Regions from separate parts of the Homo sapiens genome. Here region 2 is linked to region 1. The links are contacts of gene promoters, found by promoter capture Hi-C in blood cells and fetal thymus (Javierre and others, 2016). All regions are on one chromosome and are shown on one strand. Each heading gives the region's core, a stretch centred on a gene start or on the middle of the fragment in contact. The rest is flanking DNA. Distances are from core to core; before and after follow the strand shown.

Region 1 (7,227 bases), core at 3,996-6,495:
GTCTATACATATGTATCTGCTGTTCCTTTAACAACTGCATCCATCCTGACAGAAATTTTGTTTTTTGCTATTGAAATCAGTGTTGTGATTAACAGTTTTACACATGGTTTTTTTGTTTTGTTTAGTTTTAGTTTTTGTTTTTTTGAGATGGAGTTTCGCTTTTGTTGCTCAGGCTGGAGTGCAATGGTGTAATCTTGGCTCACTGCAACCTTCGTCTCCTGGGTTTAAGCTATCCTCCTGCCTCAGCCTCCCGAGTAGCTGGGATTACAGGGGCTGGCCACCACGCCCAGCTAATTTTTGTATTTTTAGTAGAGATGGGGTTTCGCCATGTTAGCCAGGTTGGTCTTGAACTCCTGACCTCAGTTGATCCACCAGCCTCGGCCTTCCAAAGTGCTGGGATTACAGGCGTGAACCACTGCACCCAGCCTATACATCTTTCTTTATATGTAAATATTACTTTAAGATAAATTCCTAAACTGGGAGAGGTGGCTCACGCCTGTAATCCCAACGTTTTGGAAGGTCAAGGTGGGAGGATGGTTTGAGGCCAGGAGCTGGAGACCAGTCTGGGCAACATAGCAAGACTATCTCTACAGGAAAATTTTTTAATTAATCAGGGGTGGTGGCATGTGCCTATAGTCCCAACTACTCAGAAGGATCACTTTAGCCCAGGAGTTCAGGGTTGCAGTGAGCTGATTGTGTTACTGCACTCCAGCCTGGGTGACAGAGTAAAATCCTGTCCAAAAAAAAAAAATCCTGGAAGTGGAATTACAATGTCAAAGAAAATACAAATTTAAAATTTTCGGGCCAGGTATGGTGGTTCACACCTGTACCAATCCCAGCACTTTGGGAGGCCAAGGAAGGCAGATCACGAGGTCAAGATTGAGACCATCCTGGCCAACATGGTGAAACCCCGTCTCTACTAAAAATACAAAAATTAGCTGGGTGTGGTGGCGCCCACCTGTAGTCCCAGCTACTTGGGAGGCTGAGGCAGAAGAATTGCTTGAACCTGGGAGGCGGAGGTTTCAGTGAGCCGAGATCATGCCACTGCACTCCAGCCTGGTGACAGAGCGACTCAAAAAAAAAAACATTTTTTTTCCCGTAGATATTATCATATCAAATTACCCCTGAAAAAGGTTGTAAAAACGGGGCCTCTGCAAAAAGTAAACATTTTTTCTAGCAACTGCCTTTATAAGCATTTAAATAAAAATATTTTTTCCTTCTATTTGCTGTGAAAGGTTGATTTTCATTCTTTATTTGACCAATTTGCAACACTTGACAGAATTAATTACCTCTTTTTCCATGAAACACATTCTTCACTTGTCTTGTTTTTTTTTTTGTTTGTTTACTTGTTTGTTTTTGAGACAGAGTCTCACTCTGTTGCTCAGGCTGGAGTGCAGTGGCACTATCTCGGCTCACTGCAAACTCTGCCCCCTGAGTTCAAGCAGTTCTCCTGCCTCAGCCTCCCTAGTAGCTGGGATTACAGGCACGCGCTACCACACCTGGCTAATTTTTGTATTTTTATAGAGACGGAGGTTTCGCCATGTTTGTCAGGCTGGTCTAGAACTCCTGACCTCAAGTGATCCACCCACCTTGGCCTCCCAAAGTGCTGGGATTACAGGCATGAGACACCATGCCAGGCCTCCTCACTTGTATTCTAAGGTGGGATGCTCTTGGGGTTTTCCTTAGAACACACTGGACTCTCCTTTCCTTTTAAGAGACAGGGTCTTGCTCTGTTGCCTAGGTTGGAGTGCAGTGTGATGATTATAGCTTACTGAAGTTTCCAACTCCTAGGCTCACAGGATCCTCCCACCTCAGCCTTCTGAGTAACTGGGACTACAGGTACATGCCACCACGCCCAGCTAACTTTTTAAATTTTTATTTATTTATTTATTTTGAGATGGAGTCTCGCTCTGTCTCCCAGGCTGGAGTGCAGTGGCGTGATCTCGGCTCACTGCAACCTCTGCCTCCTAGGTTCAAGGGATTCTCCTGCCTCGGCCTCCCGAGTAGCTGGGATTACAGGTGCCAGCCATCACGCCCAGCTAATTTTTGTATTTTTAGTAGAGACGGGGTTTCACTGTGTTGGCCAAGTTGGTCTCAAACTCCTGACCTCAGCTGATCCACCCACCTCGGCCTCCAAAATGCTCGGATTACAGGCAAATTTTTTAATTTTTATTTTTGTAGAGACAGGGTCTTGCTATGTTGCTAAGGCTGTTCTACAAACTCCTGGATTCAAGTGATCTTCCTGTATTTGGTCTCCCAAAGTGCTGGGATTAGTAAAGGTGTAGCCACAGCTCCCAGCTGGACTCTCCTTTTCAATCTTCCCTCTTGGTTCCTCCTGTCTCCTTGCATTCTGAACACTGAAAGGTTCTAGGTGTCAGTCTTTGGTCCTCTCTCTACCTACAATACCCTTGGTTGGATCTCATTCAATCCCATGGATTTAAATATCTTCTCTCCATTTGGATGTCTAAGAGAAATCTAAAAATGTCTAAAGCCGAATTCATAATCTTAACCCCAAAACCTAGTCCTACATTTTACTTTATTTCAACTCAGCGAATGGCAATTCCATCTTTCCAGTTGCTCAGAGCAAATCCCTGCTTTCTTTCTTTTACATTCCAAGTTCCTCTCTTCATTAAGGTTTCTGCTGAAGTCAGATGCCCAAAGAAATCTCTTACCACATTTCTGAGACAAAACTTTCCCACCTCCCAGCATCACTGCCTATCCTCTTAGCTTGCCTATTTTTAAAATATAGCATGTCATAATCTCTAAAATTAGCCTATGTATTTCTTTAACTTGATCGTTGTCTCCTCCACCAGAATATGAGCTGAGAGCAGAAACTTTGCTGGTTCACTAGGGTATCTCTAGCATCTATAGCAGTGCTGTTGGCATAGTGGCCACTCAATAATTATTTGCTCCATGAATGAACGATTTATGCAACTCATACATAGATAACTGTCAAAAACCAGGCTGTTGAGATGGCAAAGGCAGTAGATTTAGAGAAGAAACATCAGGTTTGGGGCCTATACCAGCCACAGCTATGCAGCTTTGGGTATTATCCTTCAAAGTCTATCCCTCTGTAAAACGGGATTTCTGCCATCTTCCTCAACAAATAAGAAAGCTGGAATAGTCAATACCTATTTGATAGTATAAGACAAAAGATTCACTATCTGCAATTTACCAGAAACATTTCCTTCAATTTTCTTCTTAATTTCACTTGTTTAGGTACAACACAATATGAGACAATGTGTTTTAGGGTTATTATTATAATGACATTATATTACTAAGTCTGTGCCTTTAACATATCACTTGTGCAAACTTTAAGAATAGTAACTTTAAGGCCACGCACGGTGGCTCATGCCCATTATCCCAGCATTTTGGGAGGCCAAGGGAGACTAATCCCTTGAGATCTAGACCAGTCTGGTCAACATAGTGAAACCCCAACTCTACCAAAAATAGAAAAATTAGCCGGCGTGGTGGCATGCACCTGTGGTCCAAGCTACTCGGGGGGCTGAGGTGGGAGGATCATTTGAACCCGGGAGGCAGAGGCTACAAAGAGCGGAGATCATGCCACTGCACTCCACCCTGAGCGACATAGCGAGACTCCGTCTCAAAAACAAAAAAACATATATTAGAAATAATTACCAGAAATAGAAAATCACAAGAGATTATCTAATCCCGTATATGGGGCTACTATAAATAACCTCAGAATTTAGAAATAAGAAAAAAATATTAAAAGCCCCAAAATTAATAAAAAATCAGTTTTAGGCCAGGTGCGGTGGCTCACGCCTGTAATCCCAGCACTCTGGGAGGCCGAGGCGGGTGGATCACGAGGTCAGGAGTTCAAGACCAGCCTAGCCAAGATGGTGAAACCCCGTCTCTACTAAAAATACAAAAATTAGCCGGGCGTGGTGGCGGGCTAATTAGGTGGTGCCTGTAATCCCAGCTACTCGGGAGGCTGAGGCAGAGAACTGCTTGAACCCGGGAAGCGGAGGTTGCAGTGAGCCAAAATCGTGCCACTGCACTCCAGCCTGGGCGACAGAATGAGACTCCGTCTCAAACAAACAAACAAAAAAAGTTTTAGATGAGCTCTGCCAGTAGTAAACGGCTTGTAAAAGAAACCCGGTATCTGGTCAAGTCCTAAGTGACCTGAACCACGCATCTTCAGGACTCTACTGGGATGACTGTAACCTGAACGCGGTTCCTAGAGCAGAGCAAGCATATTCCTTGGACTCAGTAACACAAGGGGCCAGTCCTCTCCAGCATCCCAGCTGCCACCGCCCTGTCAGGCTCCCCAGGCAATTGTCCATCTTACTCCTTCTCCAGCGTGGACGCTTAAGGGGAGGGAGCATCCCTCCTCGAGGGTCAACTGGCATGTAGCTTACGAAGACCGCGTGAGTTCTCCAACCCCAGACTTGCTGCGGGGCGGGGACGTGGGGGTGACAAAATCCAGACTACGACCCTCCATGAGCCCTGGCAACCCCGGGGTGACCCCAACACCGATGAGGCCACGCGCGCTCCAGCTCTGACACTCCTTCCAGATCGGCGGGGCCTGAAACAGCGGGCTAAGCTTCACCTACGGCTGAGCGTCAGATTCAGCTGAGGAGATTCTAAAAGCGCTATGCTGGGCCCAGACCCAGGCCCTCCAGAGCAGAACGCGGAGGGGCCCGACCCCAGTCTGGTGGCGTAGGTGTGTGACAAAGTATGAGGGCGCGCCAAGCTCTCCAGTTCCACATCTGCTGTCGAGTCCAGCGCCTGCCACGCTCCCGTGCGGGGACCCGCCCAAAACTCCCTGGAAGCCAGGCGATTCAGACCCCGCCACCGCGTCCCCAGAGACTGGGCGGAAACCGGAGACTCGCCTCCCGAACCCGCGAAACTATCTCCCGCGAGACTGCCCCGCCCCAACCCCGCCCCGCAACTCTACTCCCTGATTGGCTGGAATTACGGCCGGATTCCGGAGTCCTTTCCAGCTCCCTCTTCGGCCGGGTTTCCCGCCGAATACAAAGGCGCACTGTGAACTGGCTCTTTCTTTCCGCCAATCATTTCCGCCAGCCATTCATCACCGATTTTCTTCATCTTCCCCTCCCTCTTCCGTCCCGCAGTCCCCGACCTGTTAGCTCTCGGTTAGTTAAGGGACTCGGGTCCTTCCGAACTGCGCATGCGCCACCGCGTCTGCAGGGGGAGAAGCGGGCAGGGGCGCAGGCGCAGTAGTGTGATCCCCTGGCCAGTCCCTAAGCACGTGGGTTGGGTTGTCCTGCTTGGCTGCGGAGGGAGTGGAACCTCGATATTGGTGGTGTCCATCGTGGGCAGCGGACTAATAAAGGCCATGGCGCCAGCAGAAATCCTGAACGGGAAGGAGATCTCCGCGTAAGCACCTGACATTGTTGTTGAGTGTGGGGCTGTGGACGAGGGCTCTGAGGGTGTGCAGGTCCCCCGGACCCATTTTTTGCGGGAGGGACACTTGTAGCGGAAGAGTTAGGCCCATAACACCTGAAGACCTGCAGCCAAAGAAAGAGAACCCGGGCACAACCTGCGTTTGCAAGTGGACTGCCTAGTGGCTGTAGCCGCTGGCTCCTGTGCTTCGGGGAAAAGTCCTGTGCCGACTATGCTCCCAAACGCGCAGCTGCTGGTGACTTTCTGCCGGGAGAGTGGGTAGTTGCGGCTTCCTGGAGCCCCCCTAGTCAGAACTCAGAAATCCAATCTACTTAATTCCCGTTAATTTGGAGGTGAGTAGATGGAGACTAGTGAGGTGACAAGGCTTGACAAGACTACAAGGCTGATAATGACAGAGGGTCCTTCCAGCTCATAGCTTTTCCCACTATACCATAGTCTTATCATACGCTAAGTGAAATCTAATACATTTTTCCTTTCTCTTCAATCTCGTGCTTCTCTCTAACAGCCATCTCTCTGCCCTGGTCCTAGAGTTACTTGAAACGTAATTTGGCTCCTGAGTCCTGAGAATATTCTGCATTCCACTTGACCTCTGCCTGTTCTACCCTTGCGGGACATCTGAATGCTTAATTAGTGGGTATCGTTGCCAGCTTTACTCCCAGGAAGTAACACTGGCTGCTTTTTGTCTGGGAGGTGACTGGTGAGGAAAAATGAGAGTAGAAGGAAGAGGGAAAAATATATTCCCTCTAGTAGATGAAGGAGGGAAAGATATATTCTGTGTGACCTTACTGAGTTTGCTCTTGGGACCTTTCACATCACCCGTTATGTAAGTAACTGTTGCCAGCCACAGCAGTTACTAAATTGTAATTGTCCTGTAACTCCTAACTTTGTAATAGGTTTTTGAGTGAATTACAAAGTCATCGGTGGTGAAAAGTCCGGGCCCAGTGGCTCATGCCTGTAATCCCAGCACTTTGGGAGGCCGAGGTGGGTGGATCACCTGAGGTCTGGAGTTCAAGACCAGCCTATCCAAAATGGTGAAACCCCATCTCTACTAAAAATACAAAAAATTAGCCGAGTGTGGTGGCAGGCATCTGTAATCCCAGCTACTTGGGAGGCTGAGGCAGGAGAATCACTTGAACCTGGGGGGCAGAGGTTGCAGTGAGCTGAGATGCGCCATTGCACTCCAGCCTGGGCAACAAGAGCGAAACTCCGTCTAAGAAAAAAAAAAAAAGAAATCACAATACTTACTGCTTAGTGCTTTTCAACATGTGGCTTGCTAAACTGTATTTCTGCTTTACTTTCTGTTTTTGTTTGCTTGTATTCAAACTTACTTCCTTTTCCAGTGGCTTTTTGTTTTAATATAAAAATCTTCCTTTTAGAAAGACTGATTGTGAAGAGATAATTTAGTGCATAATAATAGTGCAGATAATTTAGTACAATAATAATGCATCTGGGCCAGTACTGAGAATAGGTGCTCACTGAATATACTTTCGTTAATTGGAGAGCAAATTAAATATGTTTATCAACTCCATAAGGGCAAATACATGTATTGTCTTATTTTTGTCTATATCCTAAACACCTGGAAACCCTGTTTCCTGCCTTACTACTTGTGTGGTTTTAAGCAAATTAATTAACCTTTCTGTGCCAAAGTTTCCTCAAATGTTAAGTAAAAGTAATGTCTAGGTCATTGGGATGTTAGTAGAATTAAATGGGTTCCTAACAGATGATCATTTATAATTCTTCCTGGCACATAATAAGTATTCGATATATGTTGTATTAATAATCAGTAATTAGTTAATGTATATATGAATGATTCATTATCTTTTTTTTTTTTTACATGGT
Region 2 (7,140 bases), core at 262-2,761, 530 kb before region 1:
CCTCCAGGCAGGAAAGAGCTAGGTGGTGTGTGGATTTATTGGAACTGAGAGGTCATTGTGGCTGAGCACTGTCAAGTTAAGGGAGGGTAGGACTAAATGACAGGGTGGAAATCAGGTGTCAGATCATGCAGGGCCTTTCTGGAGAAATTAACATGGAATCCTCATATGTAGCCTATTAGCCCTTTTTATGGTTTAAGAAACTGGGCATCAGGGAGATTGAATAACTTTCTGAGATTATGCAGTAGGTGAGTGGCAGCGCCTAGAATACAAAGCCAGGCTCGCAGACTCTAACGAACCTGTATCTGACCACTATGTCAAAATCAAAAGACAGTCCCTGTCCTGGTGAAGCTGTTAGTCTAGTGGGAAGACAAGCTATTGCAGTATACACATGTGCTCCTGGGGGCTGTGGGAGGAGGGAAGCCCCTAGTTCTGCCTGGGAGTGGGACAGGCCAAATTGGAAACATACAATCATTTTTCCTTTTTTATTATTGTGAAATATTTCAGATTGGCAACATCTTAATTAAGAAATAATATTAAATACAATAGCCTATTCTCTGAGTCTTCACTGTATGTTCCCCTCCTTTTTTTCTTTTTAAAGACAAAATGCTTGCTTTCACATGTACAAAGGATCTGTGTCATAATGCCCCCTTTCCTACTTTCATCAAATAAAAGATTATGTCTGGAGTAGTGTAAATTCACTTATTTTATTTTTTTGAGACAAGGTCTCGTTCTATCACCCAGGCTGGAGTACAGTGGTGCGATCATGGCTCACTGTAGCCTCTACCTCCTGGGCCCAAGTGATTCTCCCACCCCGGCCTCCCAAGTAACTGACTACAGGTGCACACTACCATGCCTGGCCAACTGTGAATTTTTTTGTAGAGAAGAGGTCTCACCATGTTGCCTAGGCTGGTCTCCAACTCCTGGCCTCAAGTGATCCTCCCACCTCAGCCTCCCAAAGTGCTGGATTACAGGCATGAGTCTGCCCTTGGCCTCGTGTTTACATTTGAGAAGTTTTTGACTTATGTATAGACCTGTGGAACTGTCTCCCTGTAGCTCCTTGCTATACCCTGAATCCCTCTTCCTCATCCAGCCAATGATAGCTTTCTGTCTCTGTGGATTAGTTTGCGTTTTTTAGAATGTTATGTAAATGGAATCATGTAGTAAGTTCTCTTCTTTGCCTGGCTTTTGCTTAGCATAATTATTTTGAGACTCATCCACATTGTATCAATAGCTGATTTCTTTTTATTGTTAAGTAATACTCCATTGTACTGATAGACGCCAGTTCATGTATCTTTTCACCCATTGATAGACATTTAGGTTGTTTCTGGTTTTGGGCTATTAAAAATAAAGCTGCCATGAACATTATACACAGTCTTTGTATGCATATCTTTCATTTCCCCTGGGTAGATGTCTAGGAGTAGAATGACTAGATCCTATGGTAGGCATATGTTTAATTTTTCAAAGAACTACTATACTTTTCCAAAGTGGTTATATAATATAACCAAAATAGTCTATGAGGGTTCCAGTTGCCCCAGATCCTTGCCAACAGTTGGGGTGGTTAGGCTTTTATAGCCATTCTGTTGGGTGTGTAGTGACACCTCATTGTGGTTTTAATTTCCATTTCCCTGATGACTAATGATGTTGAGCATCATTTCATATGCTTATTTACCATCCATTTATCTTCTTTGTTGAAGTGTCTACTCAAATTTTTTGCCCGTTTTCTTGCATTGTTTTCCTTCTTATTGAGTTTTGAGAGTTCTTTGTGTATTCTGGATGCAAGTCATTTGTCACGTGTAAGATTTGCAAATATTTCCATTCAGTCTTATCTTAGTCCATTTTGTGCTGCCATTACAGAATACCATAGATTGGGTAATTTATAATGAACAGAAATTTATTGGCTCATGGTTCTAGAATCTGGGAAGTCTAAGATTGATGGGGCGACATCTGGTGAGAGCATTTTTGCTGTATCATTACATGACAGAAGGGCAAAGAGAGGGTGAGAAAGAAGCAAAATGGAGCTGTTTTATTATTTTTATTTTATTATTTATTTATTTATTTAAGACACAGTCTCACTCTGTCACCCAGGCTGGAGTGCAGTGACACAGTCTCAGCTCACTGCAACCTCTGCCTCCTGGGTTCTAGTGATTGTGGTACCTGGGATTACAGGTGTGCGTCTCCACACCGGCCTTTTTTTTTTTTTTTTTTTTTTTTTTTTTTTTGATTTTTAGTAGAGACAGGGTTTCACTGTGTTGGCCAGGATGGTCTTGAACTCCTGGCCTCAAGTGATCTGCCCACCTTGGCCTCCCAAAGTGCTGGGATTACAGGCATGAGCCACTGCACCCAGCCTATTTTTTTTTTTGAGACAGTATCTCGCTGTGTTGCCCAGGCTGGAGTGCAGTGGCTTGATCTCAGCTCACTGCAACCTCTGCCTCCCAGGTTCAAGCGATTCTCCTGCCTTAGCCTCCTGAGTAGCTGGGACTCCAGGTGCGTGCCACCACTCTCAGCCTGATTTATTCCTTTATAAGGAACCCACTCCTGCGATGATGGCATTAATCCATTAATGACAGCAGAGCCCTTATAACCTATCACCTGATAAAAGTTCCATCTCTTAATACTGTAATATTGTAACAGTATTGCCTCTTAATAATGTTACGATGGCGATTAAATTTCACCAGAGTTTTGGAGGGGACATTTAAACCATAGCAAATTTATTACATTCTCTTAACAATATCTTTTGAAGATACTGTTCTTAATTTTGATGAAGTACAATTTGTCAATTTATTCTTTATGGATTGTACTTTTGGTATTATTATCTAAGAAATCTGCCTAATTCAAAGTCAAAAAGGCTTTCTCCTATGATTTTTTTCTAAAATTTTTATAGGTTTTGGTTTAACATTTAGGTTCATGTACTTTAATTTTTGTTTATGGTGTGAATATGGGTGGAAGTTTACCCCACCTATGCCAGGAACATTTGGTAATTTTTGGAGACAGTGTCTGGAAACCATGTCTGGTGTAGGGACGAGGGGCATTTGTTCCCAGCCATCTACTGGGCAGAAGTCTAGGATGCTGCTAGATACCCTACAGTGGATAGGTGAGATCCTCTCAATAGAGAATTATTCAGCCAAAGTGTTAGTAGTGCCAGGGTTGAGACACTCTAGGCTTGAGGTTTATTAATTTTATTGAACTCCATGAACCAGCTGTTGGTTTCATTGATATTGTTTAATATTTTTCTATTTTCCCTTTGATTGATTTTCACTCAGATCTTTATTTTTCCCTTCTACTTTTGGGTTTAATTTGTTCTTATTCCAGTTTCCTTAGGTCATTGATTTGTGACTTTTCTTCTTTTCTGATATAGGTGTTTAGTCTTTTAAATTTATTCCTCAGTACTACTTTAGTGACATCTCACAAATTTTGATATGGTGTGATTTTATTTGTATTTAGTTAAAAATACTTTTAAAATTGGCTGGGCGTGGTGGCTCACACCTGTAATCCCAGCAGTTTGGGAGGCCAAGGCAGGCGGATCACGAGGTCAAGAGCTGGAGACCAGCCTGGCCAACATAGTGAAATCCCATCTCTACTAAAAATACAAAATTAGCTGGGTGTGGTGGCACATGCCTGTAATTCCAGCTACTTGGGAGGCTGAGGCAGGAGAATTGCTTGAACTCAGGGGGTGGAGGTTACAGTGAGCTGAGATCATGACGCTGCAGTCCAGCCTGGGCAACAGAGCAAGACTCTGCCTCGGGAAAAAGAGAAAACAAAGAAAGAAGCAAGTCACTATGTGCAGCCTGCACTAAAGGAGTGGACTCCACTCCTTTCCTCCCTCCTTTCTCTCTTTTCTTTCTCTCTCTCTTTCTCCCTTCTCCCCTTCCTTCCCTCCCTCCCTCCCTCCCTCCCTCCCTTCCTCCCTTCCTTCCTTCGTTCCTACCATCTGTCTGTCTGTCTAGCTTTGTTGCCCAGCTGGCTGGAGTGCAGTGGCACCATCTTGGCTCACTGCAACCTCTGCCTCTCTGGCCCAAGTGATCTGCCTGCTTTGGCCTCCCAAAGTACTAGGATTATAGGTGTGAGCCTCTGTGCCTGGCCTAGAAACTAATTTTCTTAAACTAAATCCACTAAATTATCATAGAGCAGACCATTGCTGTTATAGAAACATATTTTAGAATACTGCAGAGTATTACAATATTCAGAGCACCTGCACTTGGAGAACCCTCCCCTCCAGACAGGTTCTGCAGGGTGCACTGCCTCCTTTTCTTTCCTCTGGGCTGCATTAGGAGGAGGGAGGTGAATGGGGAGAAGGAATCAATCTTCCTGTGTTGACATTTTCCAGACCCTGAGAAACGTTGAGTTGAAAGATAAGTGTGAAAGCATCTCTTTCTTTTGATGGTGTGTGAGATGAAAAGCACTTGCTAATAGCCCCTCAGGTCAAAGTAACACATTTGACAAAAAGGAGCCTCAAGCTTTTGCTTGTCAGTGTCCATATTTGATTGGAAATTTCAATCTGAGATTTGGTGCTTGGATTTTCCTAGAATTTGCCAATTACTTGTTGCTCTGGTTCCAGCTGACTTTTAGTCTTCCTTTGGGTACTACCACTGGGTGCAGTTTGTTATCAGTGAGTAGCTCTTCTCTATCGGGCTGTGTAAATGTACCCCTATTTAATTCATTCAACAAATTATTTTTTAAATACTTATTGAATCTGGGCTCTGACACACAGGTAAAAGTCAATGTCTCTTGCCACTTGTAAGCTGTCTAGAAGCAGAAAGGCCCATAAGCAGAGGAACATGCAATCAGTGGGGTAATTGGTAGTCACTGCAGTGGAAACATGAGCAGGGCAAAGCATGGTCAGCTGGAGCAGTGGTTCTCAAAGTAGGGTCCAGGGACCAGGAGCAGCCAACCTATTGAGTATAACCTTGACAGTGGGGCCCAGCAATCTGTGTTTAATAAGCCTTCTAAGTGATTCTGATGCATGCTCCAGACTGTGAACCATGGGCATAGAGGATTAGACAATCTTTGAGATTTTTTCCAGCTCTTCAAGTCTATGCATATGGTTAAGAAATGTGATATTTACCACATTGTTTTTTTTTTTTTTTTTTGAGACGGAGTCTTACTCTGTTGCCCAGGCTGGAGTGCGGCGGCACAATCTCAGCTCACTGCAACCTTCGCCTCCTGGGTTCAAGCGATTATCCTACCTCAGACTCCTGAGTAGCTGGGATTACAGGTGCGCACCACCACGCCCAGCTAATTTTTGTATTTTTAGTAGAGACGGGGTTTCACCATGTTGGTCATGCTGGTCTCGAACTCCTGACCTCGTGATCCGCCCACCTCAGCCTCCCAAAGTGCTGGGATTACAGGCATGAGCCACCGTGCCTGGCCCTACCCCGTTGTATTTTAAGAGCATTAGTTGGCACTAATATCATATAAAACATTAATTGCAGTGTAGGCTGGGCACTGTAGCATATGCCTGTAATCCCAGCATTTTGGGAGGCTGAGGCGAGAGGATCACATGAGCCCAGGAGTTTGAGACCAGCCTGGGCAACATAGTGAGACCCCAATCTCAAAAAAAAAAATTAGCTGGGCTATGGTGGTGCATGTCTATAGTCCCAGGTACTAGGGAGGCTGAGGTGGGAGGATCGCCTGAGCCTGGGGGATTGAGGCTGCAGTGAGCCGTGAGAGACACAGTGAGACCCCGACTAAAAAGAAAAAAAGGAATGTAGGTAAAACAAATTCAATTTTACTATGTGTGTTGTTGAAGTGAGCACATAAAACAAATTCAAAATGATACAGTTATGTTTGACAGTGGAGCAATAGTAAATTGGACTTAAAAAACTTTATTATGAAAAATTTCAAATATATTCAAAAGCAGAGATAATAGTAAAATGTACTATTGCATAACGATTACCCAGAATGAATATTATTAAATCCTGTCAATCTGGTTTTACCCAGGTCCTCACATATCCCACCCGTGCTGGATTATTTTGAAGCAAATTTTATACATCATATCATTTTATCCTTAAATAATTGGATTTTAAATTATTTGAGATATTAAAGTGCTAGAAATGAATTTGAAACCAAATCATGTGTAGCCATTTCCTGGTTTCCCTTACATTATAGATAAAACTTATCTAGAGCTAATTTACACAAAAGTTGGATAAAACAAAACAACAGTTGGACACATGTACATATATTCGTATTTGCATAACATCTACTAAAAGTATACTTTTTTTGTTGTTGAGGCGAAGTCTCGCTCTGTCACCCAGGTGGGAGTGCAGCGTGGTGTGATTATGGCTTATTGCAGCCCTGACCTCCTTGGCTCAAGTGATCCTCCAGCCTCGTGTTTTGATATTTTGTAGAGACCGAGATCTCACTGTGTTGCCCAGGCTGGTCTCAAACTTCTGGGCTCAAGAAATCCTCCTGCTTTAGCCTCCTAAGGGGCTGGGATTAGAGGCGTGAACCACTGTGCCTGGCAAAAATAAGTATACTTGTCACTACCGTGAATACATTTTATTAAAACATTTTATTTACTGTCATTATGTTAGCAATATGTGCATTATACTTATAGATAATATTCTAGAATAGTAAGAAAGACTATACACGCATGCCCTGCCAAAATTGAATTGTTGCACTTGAAGGGGAAATTTTAATTTGAAAGGCAGGTTTTTAGGAAGGTAGATATTAGGTTTTGGGGCAGTTTTTATTAGAAGGTTTTGGGGCAGTTTTGTTTTTTTTTTGTTTTGTTTTGTTTTTTTGGAGACAGAGTCTCACTCTGTTGCCAGGCTGGAGTGCAGTGGCGTGATCTTGGCTCACTGCAGCCTCTGCCTCCTGGGTTCAAGTGATTCTACTGCCTCAGCCTCCTGAGTAGCTGGAGCTATAGGCATGCACCACCACACCTGGCTAATTTTTGTATTTTTAGTAGAGGTGGAATTTCACCATGTTGGCCAGGCTGATCTCAAACTCTTGGCCTCAAGTGACCTGCCCGCCTCAGCCTCCGAAAATGCTGGGATTATGGGCCTGAGCCACCGTGCCTGGCCTTGGGGCAGATTTTTAATATATGTAAATTAAGAATTCTCAGTACTCATTTCAGCAGTTATGTTGCCTCATTTGGAAAGAAAAGGTATTCAGCATGTGGGGATGCATAATACATTTTAA

What was found. The method cuts DNA at HindIII sites, captures the fragments that hold promoters and counts their contacts. A CHiCAGO score of 5 or more calls a contact.
Region 2: a fragment that was not itself captured here is called in contact with the fragment with the promoter of MTHFD1 in region 1 in 1 of 17 cell types (fetal thymus); the score reaches 5.0 in fetal thymus.

The regions. Positions count from the first base shown.
Region 1 is chr14:64,383,108-64,390,334 of GRCh38, forward strand. It overlaps MTHFD1 (methylenetetrahydrofolate dehydrogenase, cyclohydrolase and formyltetrahydrofolate synthetase 1), which reads left to right and starts at 5,246. Exons shown (of 28, transcript NM_005956.4): 1 at 5,246-5,361. The coding sequence starts at 5,321. RefSeq lists enhancers at 4,309-4,408, 4,429-4,488, 5,009-5,098. The HindIII fragment of the contact is 3,471 bases long and covers 4,563-7,227 here.
Region 2 is chr14:63,856,076-63,863,215 of GRCh38, forward strand. All of the region lies in intron 1 of SYNE2 (spectrin repeat containing nuclear envelope protein 2), which reads left to right. Among named protein-coding and RNA genes, the nearest start is that of SYNE2, 6.6 kb to the left of the region's middle. The HindIII fragment of the contact is 5,881 bases long and covers 1-4,452 here.